3 separate regions of the Homo sapiens genome follow, and all the other regions are linked to region 1. Evidence: promoter capture Hi-C in 16 types of primary human blood cells and fetal thymus (Javierre and others, 2016). All regions are on one chromosome and are shown on one strand. The core of a region is centred on a gene start or on the middle of the fragment in contact, and the rest is flanking DNA. Distances in the headings are between cores, read along the strand shown.

What was found. Contacts are between HindIII fragments. The CHiCAGO score rates a contact against its expected background, and 5 or more counts as called.
Region 2: a fragment that was not itself captured here is called in contact with the fragment with the promoter of COL11A1 in region 1 in 1 of 17 cell types (megakaryocytes); the score reaches 5.3 in megakaryocytes.
Region 3: a contact is called between a fragment that was not itself captured here and the fragment with the promoter of COL11A1 in region 1, in 6 of 17 cell types (M2 macrophages, endothelial precursors, M0 macrophages and 3 more). The highest score is 9.8, in M2 macrophages.

Annotation. Positions count from the first base shown.
Region 1 is chr1:103,105,563-103,109,947 of GRCh38, reverse strand. It overlaps COL11A1 (collagen type XI alpha 1 chain), which reads left to right and starts at 1,426. Exons shown (of 67, transcript NM_001854.4): 1 at 1,426-1,875. The coding sequence starts at 1,770. The HindIII fragment of the contact is 5,912 bases long and covers 1-2,210 here.
Region 2 is chr1:103,370,034-103,374,495 of GRCh38, reverse strand. No RefSeq gene overlaps it. Among named protein-coding and RNA genes, the nearest start is that of RNPC3-DT, 150 kb to the left of the region's middle. The HindIII fragment of the contact is 1,219 bases long and covers 789-2,007 here.
Region 3 is chr1:103,495,747-103,500,239 of GRCh38, reverse strand. All of the region lies in intron 1 of RNPC3-DT (RNPC3 divergent transcript), which reads left to right. Among named protein-coding and RNA genes, the nearest start is that of RNPC3-DT, 28 kb to the left of the region's middle. The HindIII fragment of the contact is 652 bases long and covers 1,200-1,851 here.

The DNA of each region.
Region 1 (4,385 bases), core at 177-2,676:
TAATCTGATAGATCATGAGGCATATTTTGATGACTAATAGAAAACTGAGTTCCTAAAGATTAGTGGCAGCTGTAGAATTGAACATATGTACCCAGTAAACTTAGTTGAGGGCCTTTAAGCATTTAAATGACTTAAATACTCAAAGTAGGCCCTGGCCAATGCTTCTAGTCTTTGTCAACAGAAAAATGTGTTCATTCATCCAACCCATCTCTATTGAGTGGCTAATGTATGCTGGCACCCTGATGGGCACTGTTCCAGAAAATCTTTGAGAGAAACATCTTAGGAATTATTAACGAACAAAAAGGAGTCAATAGAATGGAATGATTTTAACGTGGAAAAAGTGACTTGGGAATCTATATTCCAGGTGTAAGAGGATTACTTTGAGGATGGGTTAAGTAGAGAGGGAATTTAGAAACCTGCCCTCTTCATTACTCTCACTGTGGAGTGACCACGTTTTTGGCTCCCGAGGCTGAGGGCCAGGGCCAGGCCCTTAATGAGGAGCTGTGGGCCGAGCCTCTTGGAGATTTCTGCTAGTTGCTTTCCTCGCCTTTTCTACACACTCCTCAGTACCCCCTCATCCAGGATCAGAACAGAATCAGCTGGAAAATTAAATTACTCACCCTCTTAATGTCAGCTCCCATAAATTTTTTCCTCCTTCTCCCTCAGAGTACAGTTCAACTCTTTTAAGAGGAAAGCCACTGAATGAACCTAGTGCTGAATTTAAACGTTTAAGAGATAAACCTGTCAGTTTCAGATCTCCAAAGAGGACTTCCCTACATGCTCTAGGTTTTGACTTCTAGGGTCCCTCCATTCTATCTTCATTCCTTTCTTCTAATTATTGGGTTAAAAAAATAAAAATAAAAACACTTTTCAGAGTAGGCAGCGCAATGAGTCCACTGGTTCCACGTCTGCCATACGAAGCAGATTTTTGCACAAGGATAAGGTTACCGCTGCCAGCCCAGGACTCCAGCGGTGTGGCCGATCAGGCGCTGGCCTCCTCCCCTCTCCCGCCGACCAGCGAGAGGCTAACAGACGGGTGCAAGTAGACAAGTAGCTGTTTTTATTGAATACAGAAGCTCCTTGAAAACTCCGTGTGCTCCGGGGCTCTCCTGCAATTCCTTTCATTCCCAAAGTGCTGGAGCCAAGCACGCGTCCCCCGTAACTCCCTCCCATTTTTTCTCGGGGATTTGGTAGGCGAGGAGGGAGGAGAGGAGTGGGGAGATGGGGGGTGGTTGGTGGGCTGGGCCTGCTCGGAGTCCTCATTCTTGGGCTGAGGGAGGCGGGGGCGGGCTTGGGGCCGCCCCAGAGTCGTGTGATTGGGTCTGACCCTCAGCCTGCTTGTCAGTTTCGCCCTGGGAGGGGGAGCTGGGAGCAGGGAGGGGAGTGGGCGGAGGAGGGGGCTGCCCGGAGCCACTCGTCCAGCCCACTGACGGCATGAAGCCTTTAGGGGCACACAGTACTCTCAGCTTGTTGGTGGAAGCCCCTCATCTGCCTTCATTCTGAAGGCAGGGCCCGGCAGAGGAAGGATCAGAGGGTCGCGGCCGGAGGGTCCCGGCCGGTGGGGCCAACTCAGAGGGAGAGGAAAGGGCTAGAGACACGAAGAACGCAAACCATCAAATTTAGAAGAAAAAGCCCTTTGACTTTTTCCCCCTCTCCCTCCCCAATGGCTGTGTAGCAAACATCCCTGGCGATACCTTGGAAAGGACGAAGTTGGTCTGCAGTCGCAATTTCGTGGGTTGAGTTCACAGTTGTGAGTGCGGGGCTCGGAGATGGAGCCGTGGTCCTCTAGGTGGAAAACGAAACGGTGGCTCTGGGATTTCACCGTAACAACCCTCGCATTGACCTTCCTCTTCCAAGCTAGAGAGGTCAGAGGAGGTAAGAAAAAATGGATTTGGGGAGGTGGGAGATTGCCGTCGGTCCTACTGCTTCTGCGCCCCTCCCCCCACTTTACCCTTCCTCCCCGCTCTTCAAGAAAAAAAAAAAAAAGCAATTCCCTTAAATACAATCCAGATTGTAGCTGCTACCAGGTTGGAATTGGAAACTGGAGAAAGAGATGAATGTAGGCGGGACAATAAAGGGAGACGAGGTAGGTAGCAGGAAAAAAAGATCTGTCAGGAGGAGAGCCTGCTGAAAATGCCCTTCACCACTTTCCAGCCTCTTTGAAAAGAGGAAAAATATTACCTTGAACACAAGGGCAGTTATACAAAGCTTTTGTTTGAGGCACAGTCTTTAGACTGCCCTTGGAACACATCTGGTTTCTTCAGATTCTAACTAATGGGAATATCTTTTTAAGGGTGAGCTGAGGAGAAAATATAAAGGGTATAAAATGAACCTTGATAAAGTTCTTTGTCTGCAACCAAGTGAGAAGCAGGCTGTTTTAGTTTTGGGGATATAAGAGAAACCAGGGGGGTGAATCTAGAAGATTAGGAACACTCTGTGTGTTTGGGGGGCGGGGGAGGGTCAATCTATTTTAAGTGGACAAAAATTGGCAGATTATTAGGAATAGGTTCAAGATAGGGAGAACACTTTCCCCTGAATTTCAGTGACTCCCCCCACCCCACCCCTCCGCTTCTTCTTGCAGGTTGGACGTGCAGTTCTCTTGGAGAATGATGAAAGTCGCCAAGCAAATGGGGTGGGGGCGGAGGACTAGGGATTGGGAGGGAAGGGGAGGGGGTGTGGGTAGGGTGGGAGGAGAGAGGTAAGGAACAGTTCCTACGTGGCACCACCAAATATTCAATGGCCAGACCTGCTCGGAAGTCTGCAACCCTGTCAGTACCCACGGAGGGAGAGCGACTTCACTCCTCCCCTCCGCCTTCTCCCTCCCTCTTTCCCCCGCCCTTTCCCGAAAAGGCATCTGGCTGGAGCGGTCCGTTAGGTGCCTTAGAATCGACTGGCAGGCGAAAGCCTTTGGAGGTCAGGGAGCCCAGACAGCTTAGAGTAGAAAGCAAGCTTTGTGAGGAGTGCAGAAAGAAGCTGGGGGATAGGAAGGAGGGTGACTGACGAGGTTGGGTCAAGGGAGATAAAAATGGTCAAGCCCAAATGCGTAGGCTTTAGCAGAAACTTGAGTGTGGCCCTGGGTCTAGATGCCAAGATCTGAGCTCTCCCTAATGAGAGTCAGCCCTCCCGGAGGCCGATCTCTGAGACCAGGTTATTCCTTCCACACGCTTAGTGGCTTTCAGCTTCCCGAGTAGCAGGCAGCGCTAGATTATTCCCTTGGGTGACTTTTCCTGCTAAATACAGTGAAAGTCCTATTAGGACTATATTTGAATTTTGAAAGGAGTTATTATGTTGATTAATTATGTTGATTCATTCATTTCCACATTTTCAAGGATAGATAAGAGTGTCTTTGAAAGTGAAATCCATCAAAAAGTTTGTATTTTACTTTTGGTACCTGGTCACCGGTTGGATTGGTCAATTCTGTCAGCAGTTCTGCCCTCTGCTGGTTTTGTTTATTATTTAGAATTCCTGCGTCTACCGTGGGACATGAGGCCTCTGTAAGTCCCTCTTAACTACAGTGGTACTGGAAAAGGACCTTTGATTAAGGAAAAATGGATATGCCATTTCTTTTTCAGCATGTCACACACGCATGTAAATGAGAATATTGTAATGGCAGCTATTTATTGAAAATTATAGGAACTGAGAATTTCTTCGGTGATGGATGAAATACAAGCTCCGAGAGACACTTTTGCATGGATTCAGGGATTATTTTACTGAAGCTATTTATTTTTATTTTCCACATTGAGCCTTTCTGTGGCGATATGTGAATATTTTTTAATATCAAATTTCTGTACTTTTCATGCATAAATTTTCTATTTTCAGTCTAGCAACATACCTGAAACACTTTTAAACAGCATCCCAGTACCACATCAAATAAATGGTGGGAAAACAACTTTCCCTATTTTTATGAAGCCAAGTAATGATAGAAATAGCAAAGTATAAGGATTAGATTTTGTTGGGTTTCTTCTTCATGAAATGCCCTGAAAGTTAAGTGGTAGTTTAGATATTTATATTTTAAGATTTTGTTATGTGTTTTATCAAGCTGTTTAGTGCTCATTTTTCCTGGGAGGCCACATATTAACATAAATCCACTTTTGTAGGCATTCTTATCCCTTAATTAACTTCAAAAAGGGAATAATAGTATATTAATGCTTAAAAAGAAAACATTGGCTACAAATCCTGAATCACCACACAAGGGAAAAATAAACCCAGTGTCCACTTCTGATAATAACCTTTAGATTTGTGGTTGAAGTAAGATTTTATACCAATTTCTAAATAAAGATATTATATCCCAGCATCATACTATGACATTGATTTCATTGAGGTACAGTGATAAGATTTGGATATTAAGCACAAAGATAATTTAAAACAGATACTACTTTTATATA
Region 2 (4,462 bases), core at 149-2,648, 260 kb before region 1:
GGTTACCTTTCTTGGCATTTAATTTTTATATCTAATGAAAATTTTATATTTTGGTTTGGTAATCCATGGGAAATGAAAGATTTTTAGTTTCACATTTGTTTTCTGTTAACTTTCCTCTATTTCTCTCCATATAGAAGATTTGGGGGTTTTGTGTTTTCCTATACTTGTCTTTGTGACCTTACTGAAGTATCAGCTGGTGTAACATTGGTTTGAGTCTCCTGTCTTACTGTAAGATAGCGGAGCCCCAAGAAATGGTTATATAAATAGTGAGTAGTTGATTCAGTTCCTGAGTCATGAGTGTGCGTCTTTTTTTGCTCACTACCCTAGGTACAAATATTCCCTTGAAAATCTAGCCCAAGGCAATGTTTCAGTAGCTTTTTAACGTCTTCTTGTATGACTGAGAATTCTCATAGTAACTCTTGCCTCAAGCAGTGATTTTGACTCTTGCCTTCCATTTCTTATGGATAATTTAAATATTAATTACCACATAGTTATCAAACTATTGGGCAACACTGCCTGCTTCCAGCCTTGAAGGCCATTAGGCCTGTAATTTTCTTCCAGGTTACCATTTTGTGCTTTTACTTCAGATCCATGCTTTATTGCTATTGATATGTGTTTGGAGTAGTAGTATATCTAACCATGCACATAATAGTTTGACCATAATCATCCATTAAATATAATTTAAAATGAGACATATGACATTACAGAAAAGACTGGAAATAAAGATTTTTATCTTATTTCCCAAGGCTCAAAAGCTATCCTGGAATAGTTTAAGAACTAAATAAGCTTCATTTGAAGATAATCTTTGACACTTTTTCTTGAATATTCCATTATTCTTATCCTGATAAGAGTTTTTCGATAGCCCTATTTTTCTTTCTGAAGCCTTTAATTAAAGTGGGTATTGGGTGATCAGGAATTAAGAAAGATAGAACCTTCAGTGGACATTTACAAAAAAATTTATTTCAGCCAGGCTCACGTCTGTAATCCCAGCACTTTGGGAGGTCAAGACAGGTTGATCACCTGTGGTCATGAGTTCAAGACCATCCTGGCCAACATGGCAAAACGCCATGTCTACTAAAAACATAAAAATTAGCTGGCTGTGATGGCACACGCCTGTAATCCCAGCTACTTGGGAGGCTGAGGCAGGTAAATTGCTTGAACCTGGGAGGCAGAGATTGCAGTAAGCCAAGATTGCCCCATTATACTCCAGCTTAGGTAACAGAGTGAGACTCTGTCTCAAAAAAAAAAAAATCCATTTAATTGATTGGAGATGGCTTTAAGTATTGGGCCAGACACTATGTGAATCCTCAAAATACAATGCCTTCTGTTTGTACAAAGCTGACTGTGATATATATTGATTTTGAAACAAAATATTTGTTCATTCCTAAGAGACATTCCAAAATTCCCACAAGATTTAGCTCTTAGGAAATCAAACCACTGTGACAATGAGCCAGTCTACTGTTGCTTTGACTGACCCAGTTTTCCTGTGGAAACAAGGCTTCATCAGATGGTAAAAATAGATAATGCTGCTTGTCAATTAAATACAAATTTTAGTAAAATAATGTGAAATATAAAATGGAAAACTGCATAGTCAAAATTTGAAAGGTCACCTGTGAGGCTCTAGTGATCCAATCTTTTTTAAGTGAATAATAAAATTTTTTGGGGGGGGACAGACTGATTGAAAAGTCTGGTATAAGAAATAGGTGGCTTCAGTTCATAAAGGAGATTAAAGGGTAAGTATTTCTAAAGTTGTAATATTCCACTGACTGCCCAATAGCTTACAATATTATGTAATTCTAGAATAGCTAACATATTAAGTATTTAATACTGGGCACTGCTAATGCTGTTCATGTATTATCTTACTTAATCTTCCAAACAATTCAATGAGGTAGGCATGATATTAATCCGTACTTTAGAGTCTGATAGTTAAAGTGGATAGGTTACTTATCCATAAATGTGCAGTTAGTGTATCATAGATTCAGCCTCGAACCCAAGTTATTCTAAGCTTAGCAATTATTCTAATTTGTGTCTCAATAATTTAATAAATTTCCAATAGACAAAAAAAGTGGTGATATGAAGTTTTGTAAATCTTTCAATTAGGACCAGATTGCAAAATAAAACTTAAAAGCAGGAAGTTCTCAAAAACTGATGGAAATGCATAAAAAAATAGATGAGTCTACTTGAAGGGACTTCCTCTAACCAAATATGAAATATTTTGAACATCAAAATTATAATTACATCAATGGATTAAAATGTAATGAAAAATTGTTACTGGATCCATTATGTTGCTTAAATAAGAGGGAGGAAGGAGGGAAGAAAAGCTTTTGTTTTTTTCTTTTTCTTTACTCTTTTCTTTTTTTTGAGGTAAAGTCTTTCTCCATTGCCCAGGCTGGAGTGCAATGGCATGATCATAGCTCACTGCACTCACAGTCTCCCAAGCTCAAGAGATCCTCCCACCTCAGCTTCCTAGGTAGCCTGGACCACAGATGCACATCACCACACACAGATTATTTTTCAACTTTTTTTGTGGAGACAGGTTCTCTCTTTGTTGCCCAGGCTGGTCTCAAGCTTATGAGTTCAAGCCATTTCCTGCCTCAGCCTCCCAAAATGCTGGAATTATAGGCATGAACCAGCATGCATGGCTAACTTTTCTTAATAGAAGAATGCCAACTAATAAATGTAGAAAGAATGATAGAGATAGAAAATTACCATTTGCAAGTATCATTGTAATAATTGATTCAGTCAAAGGTTACCAATAAACACTGAAATTATTGGATTACAGATTTTGAGAATAAGATATTCATGCAGGGTCAAAGTGTTACTCCACAGATTTCTTGTCAATTATGAAGAGAAGAGGGTCCTTTGCAATGAGATAGTTGATGAACATGACCTTAATCACACGTTCAAAAGTAATGTCATCAATTATTTAGAGAAAAATTCTAAAACTGTGTTTCTCTTCTGCTCTTACACCACCACAGCAATCATCAACATAGAAGACTTATGTGAGCAAATGTCTGGGAATTTTCCTCCACACACCAAGTAGCAGACACCAGCTGGCTGTCCTCCAATTCAATTGCAACACTATCTGGAGATAGTGTTAGATCCCGCAGCCTGAGAGGTCAGCCCCTAGGACTGTTCCCCAAACCCCAGAAATTAGTCTGGGCTTCCAGAACTTCTGATCAACTGGCTGCAAATTGGGGTTCTGGAATTCCATGCCCTCCCTGGGTGTGCCACCCTCCAGGAACCTCCTCATTTTCTGCTATCTGGAAGCCCAGGAACCCAGCCTCTTGGGTTTCGGTGGAAGCTGCATGATGTTAGCATTCTTTACCCCAAGACATAGGGAGGGACCCTCTGTGGAAAGGGTCTTAAAACCCACAGTCAGGGAGGTTGGGTAAAATTGGAGTCCTGCATTGAGGCAGGTGAAAAGGAGGCAGAAGATCAGAGTGATTCTATTTCCTTAAGCCTGCCCCTGAGGCCTAACTACCCAAATTAAAACAGAAGGTTGTAACAAGGGCTATGGAAGTTATGAGCCAGGAACTACGAAAAAAAACAGTGTGTGTGGGCGTACATATAAAATTGTCAGATTTTCCTATTATTGGTATGATGTTATTATATATATATACACATATATGTATATGACATATAAATGTCATATACATATTCACATATGTATATGATATGCATATGTATATAATATGTACATATGCATACATGTATATAATATGTATATACATAACATCATACCAATAATAGGAAGACATGCCAAATTCTGTTACTTTGTTACGATATAAGTATATAATACCTATTATAAAATATTTTTGAAAAAATATTTAATATGTATATAATCAAGAAGAAACAATTATAAAATTCTAGAATGTAATATGATCTACTGAATAACTTGGCCAGACTTAAAAAAAGGGCAATGTCATGGGTAAAAAAAGGAAAAGAAGGAGTAGAAGGAAGAGAGGAAGAAGGAGGAAAAGAAAAGGAGTTGACAGTTCTAGGAGAGTAAAGGGACTTGATAACTTAAATGCAAAGTGATATTTGATTGGATCCCATATAAATGTTAAAATGACCAGAAAAACTATTGAGACAATGGGGAAATTTGAATGTGAACTATTTTATACAATATTAATCAATGCTAAATGTCGCGAGTGTGATGGTATTACCCATGTGCTGAAAAATGTTCTTATTCTTAATAGATACGTGTTGAAATATTTAGGGTGATGGATTATGATATCTGCATCTTACTTTTAAATGGATCAAAAACAGGTGCATCTAATAAAGGGTATGTGAGTATGTATTGTACTGTCTTACTCAACACTTCTGAAGACTTGAAATTTTGCAAAATAAGAAAATGTTGGAACAATAAAAATTTCATATATTTGTATAATTGATTTCATAAACTTATTTGACTTCAATAATGATCTAATGTAATAATGACTGAGGATATTTGGCGAAA
Region 3 (4,493 bases), core at 276-2,775, 390 kb before region 1:
GTTTTTTTCTGGTAGTGACTTATTTCACTCAGCTCTTTCTCATATGTGGATATAATTCTACTTCAAATTTTGAAGTTGCACTAAAATTGGTTACATTTAAGGAGGGTTGTAGAGGCTGGGCCACATAGCCTAAATATATGATCAAACCTTATTCCAGATGCTTTTGTGAGAGTGTTTCTGCATAATAGCAACGTTTAAATCTGTGGATTTTGAGTAAAGCAGATTGCCCTTTGTAATGTACATGGGCCTTATTCAATCAGTTGAAGGCCTGAACAGAATGTTGATCTACAACACACACACACCACGCACACACTCTCACACACACACAAACATATACATATCTTATTGGTTCTCCTTCTCTGGAGAACCTTGATATATAGGGGGCATACCAAAGTTACTAAATATGAAATATGTTCATATGCATTTTCTAGAAGAAACTTATATTCTACATAAAAGTAAAGTGATGATTGTGATGAAAATGATAATTGCTACTAGATACTTAGATTATAATTCACTTTAAGAATTCACAGTGTTATATTGTCATTAACTTAGTACCTTCCATCTATCCTGGCTCTTATGTGTTATTTATTAATTTATCACACAAAGCTATTGTGTATAGTGAACTAGTTGAACCATAAATAAAACAGTTTACCATAACAAGTAAACAGGAATGTTTACCCAGTAAGTTTTACCTTCAGTTTTGTCTGCAACCAGTGGAAAATGCTGTCTTGTATTAATGAATAGATTCAGTGAGGCTAGCCAAAGCACCTGCCAAAACACCTTTAAAATGTTTCTTTTAAGGAAGTTAAAAAAATTCGTGTTCAAAATGTTAACTCAAAGTATTCAGGGAACAAGCACATACCTTGTGTTAACCAGTATTTATATGAAGTGGGAGTTCAAATTACTGAGGCTTAATTTTGTGAAGGTAGCTGGAACATATAAATAACTTTGGGGTAAGGTGTTTGGATAAGGCACTACTCAAGTAAAGACCTTCTTTCTTTCTTTCCTTTTTTTTTTTTTTTTTTTTTTTACTTAATGAAGTATCTTTCTAAGTTTCCTTTTAGAAAGATGCTTTCTAAAAGGGTGTGGATGCTTTTCTAATATACCATGGATAACAGGAAATGACAACAATAATGATAGCAGATACTTATAAATGTGTGGGTCAAAAATGAATATTCTTCGAGTTTTAGGTGGAAGCTTACTCAAGATGAGATACTCCATGAAAATCTTTTCCCAAATATTTGGGTCTTCCATATTGATACCCATCCTTACCACCTGTCTCACAGGGAAAGATGACTTAGGTAAATACCTTTCTTATGCTTTAAATTCCATCCACTCCCATTTCATCAAGGATATTGTTTCACAGATTACCATTATTTTTTCTTGGCTTCATTTTCTCGCTCTTTGCTGTCTCCTTCTCTTCAAAAAATAAATGCATGTATTCAATTTCTCCTGTATTGAAAATATCTCCCTTAGTTCTGTGTACCCCAGCTACACTCATGTCTTCACCTCCCAACCACCCTTTTTGTCAGGGCTGTACAGGTTTGCTCTCTCCAAGAATTTATTTAGTCATCCAGAAATATTTCTAAGCCAAGCCTTAGGGATTGGTCTTTGTATACATTATAAAATTTAATTCTTAAGTGTCTGACAAAATACATGTAGATATTTCCTATTCCTAATTTATAGATGTGAAAACTGAGACTGAGAGAGGCTGAAGGATATGCTGAAGGCAACTGGAATCCAAAGCCTGCCCACTAGAATGTGGATATTGTCATCCTCGCCTAAAATGTTCAACTGGTGCTCATTGATTGGGTGCCTACTGTGTTACTATGTATCAGGCACTATCAAGCTTTCTGCCCATTTTTTTTAAGTCTTTATGACATTCCCTGTGAAACGGGTACTCTCATTAGTCAACTCTGTAATTCTCTCAAATTCAAAATGAAATGGTTTTTTTAAAGTTGTGAATAAAGTGAACACTTCTTTTTTCTTTTTATTTATTCCCCATATTATTTGTTATTTCTGAGCACTCTTTTTGGAGGAAGATGTCTTCGTGGCTTATATATATTTGTAACAGAAAAATTTGAAAAATACTTACATAAAGAAGAATGTAAAAATCAACAATCATCCTACTATTCAGATGATTACCATTACCATTTTACTGTATATATTTTCAATTTGTTTCTGGTACACATTCACACACACAGAATACACACACATACACACACATATTTGGAAAAGTAATATCTTTTTTCCTCACCCATTGCCAGGTACATGGTTGAGACCTTTAGGCATATTAACAAGAGAAAAGCATATACATTTATTTAATGTAAGTTTTACATGACATTAAAATCACATTCATGCCTTTTGGAATGAAGACCCAAATAAACAAGAAAAATCTGTGTATTTTATGGTCAGTCATGGGGAACTATGATTGGAGGACAAAAGGGTATAATCTAGTAAAAAACTGGGGGAAACAGCAAGACATGTTTGTTCAGATTCTTCTTGGCATCTCTGTGCCTTCAGACATTAAGAACATTTCTTTCCTCCAAGTACAGGGAGGATCCTTTTGGAATGAGGGCCTTATTACTCACTTTGGAGGAAGATCAGGTAGGTTTTGCAGTCTGTTGCAGAGGAGCAGATTGGGGGAAGGGGTGCAAGTGCCTCTCTTGCTTCTGCTGTTCCCTCAAATACCAAGGTGCTATATGAGGTAGCATATTCTAAATTCCATCATAAATATGTGGTAGTTTCACAGAATGGCTCTCCTGTTAGGTATTTAACCAGGAGCTCTATTATTGGATTTTTAGTTTGTTTTTGAAATTTTATTTGGCTATTTTAAAAAATGCTGTGGTTTTCCTGAGGATAATTTGCCAAAAGTATAATTGTAAGTCAAAAGTTACTCATATTTTCATTTGCTTTTTATCATAGTTATTTTTAACGTTTATTTTAGGTTCATGGGTACATGTGCAGGTTTGTTATATAGGTAAATTGTGTGTCACAGGGGTTTGGTATATGGATTGTTTTATCACACAGGTAATAAGAATAGTACCTCAAAGGTAGTTTTTTGATCCTCTCCTCCTACCCTCCACTCTCAAGTAGGCCCCAATGTCTGTTCTTCCCTTCTTTGTGCTCAATGTTTAGCTCCCACCTATAAATGGGAACATATGATATCTCATTTTCTGTTCTTGGATTAGTTAACTTAGGATAATGGCCTCCAAGTTCATCCATGTTGCTGCAAAGGAAACGATCTCATTCCTTTTTATGTCTGCATAATATTCCATGGAGTATATGTACCACATTTTCTTTATCCGGTCTAGCACTGATGGACATTTAGGTTAATTCCGTGTCTTTGCTATTATGAATAGTGCTGTGATGGACATATGCATGCATGTGTCTTTATGACAAGTTGATTATATCCCTTTGGGTATGTACTCAGTAATGGGATTGCTGGGTTGAATGGTAATTCTGTTTTGAGTTCTTCGAGAAATCACCACAGGCTTTCCAGAATGGCTGAATTAATTTACATTCCTAACAGCAGTGTATAAGAGTAAATGCCATAAAATGTCAACAGTAGATGAATTTGTGTCCTGCAGATTTAATGGAACAACATAGTGTTCTTTGTTCCATTCTCACGCTTGCTTATTTTTGAAAATAAAGTTTTCAGAAATTTAAGCTATAAAAAAAAAAAAAAAGAGTTCCCTTTTCTCCACAACCTTGGCAGCATCTGTTATTTTTTGACTTTTTAGTAATAGTCATTCTTACTGGTGTAAAATGATACTTCCTTGTGGTTTTGATTTCCATTTTTCTAATGATTCATGATGTTAAGCATTTTTTCATATGCTTGTTGGCCAGGCATATGTCTTTTTTTGAAAAGTGTCTGTTCATGTCATTGCTCACTTTTTAATGAGGTTGTTTGCTTTTTGCCTGTTAATTTGTTTAAGTTTCTTAAAGATTCTGGATATTAAACCTTTGTCACATGCATAGTTTGCAAATATTTCCTCTCATTCTCACAGAGTAGACTGTTTACTCTGTTGATAGTTTATTTTACTGTGCAGAAGCTCTCTAGATTAATTCAGTCCCATTTGTCAATTTTTGTTTTTGTTGAAATTGCTTTTGGCATCTTTATCATGAAATCCTTGCTAGGGCCTGTGTCCAGAATGGTATTTCCTAGATTACCTTCCAGGGTTTTTTTCAGTTTTAGAATTTTTTTTTTTTTTTTAAGACGAAGTTTTGCTCTTGTTGCCCAGGCTGGAGTGCAATGGTGCGATCTCGGCTCACTGCAACATCTGCCTCCTGGGTTCAAGCGATTCTTCTGCCTCAGCCTCCTGAGTACCTGGGATTACAGGTGCCCACCACCATGCCCGGCTAATTTTTTTTATATTTTTAGTAGAGATGAGGTTTCTCCTTGTTGGCCAGGCTGGTCTCAAATTCCTGACCTCAGGTGATCCGCCTGCCTTGGCCTCCCAAAATGCTGGGATTGCAGGCATGAGTCTCCA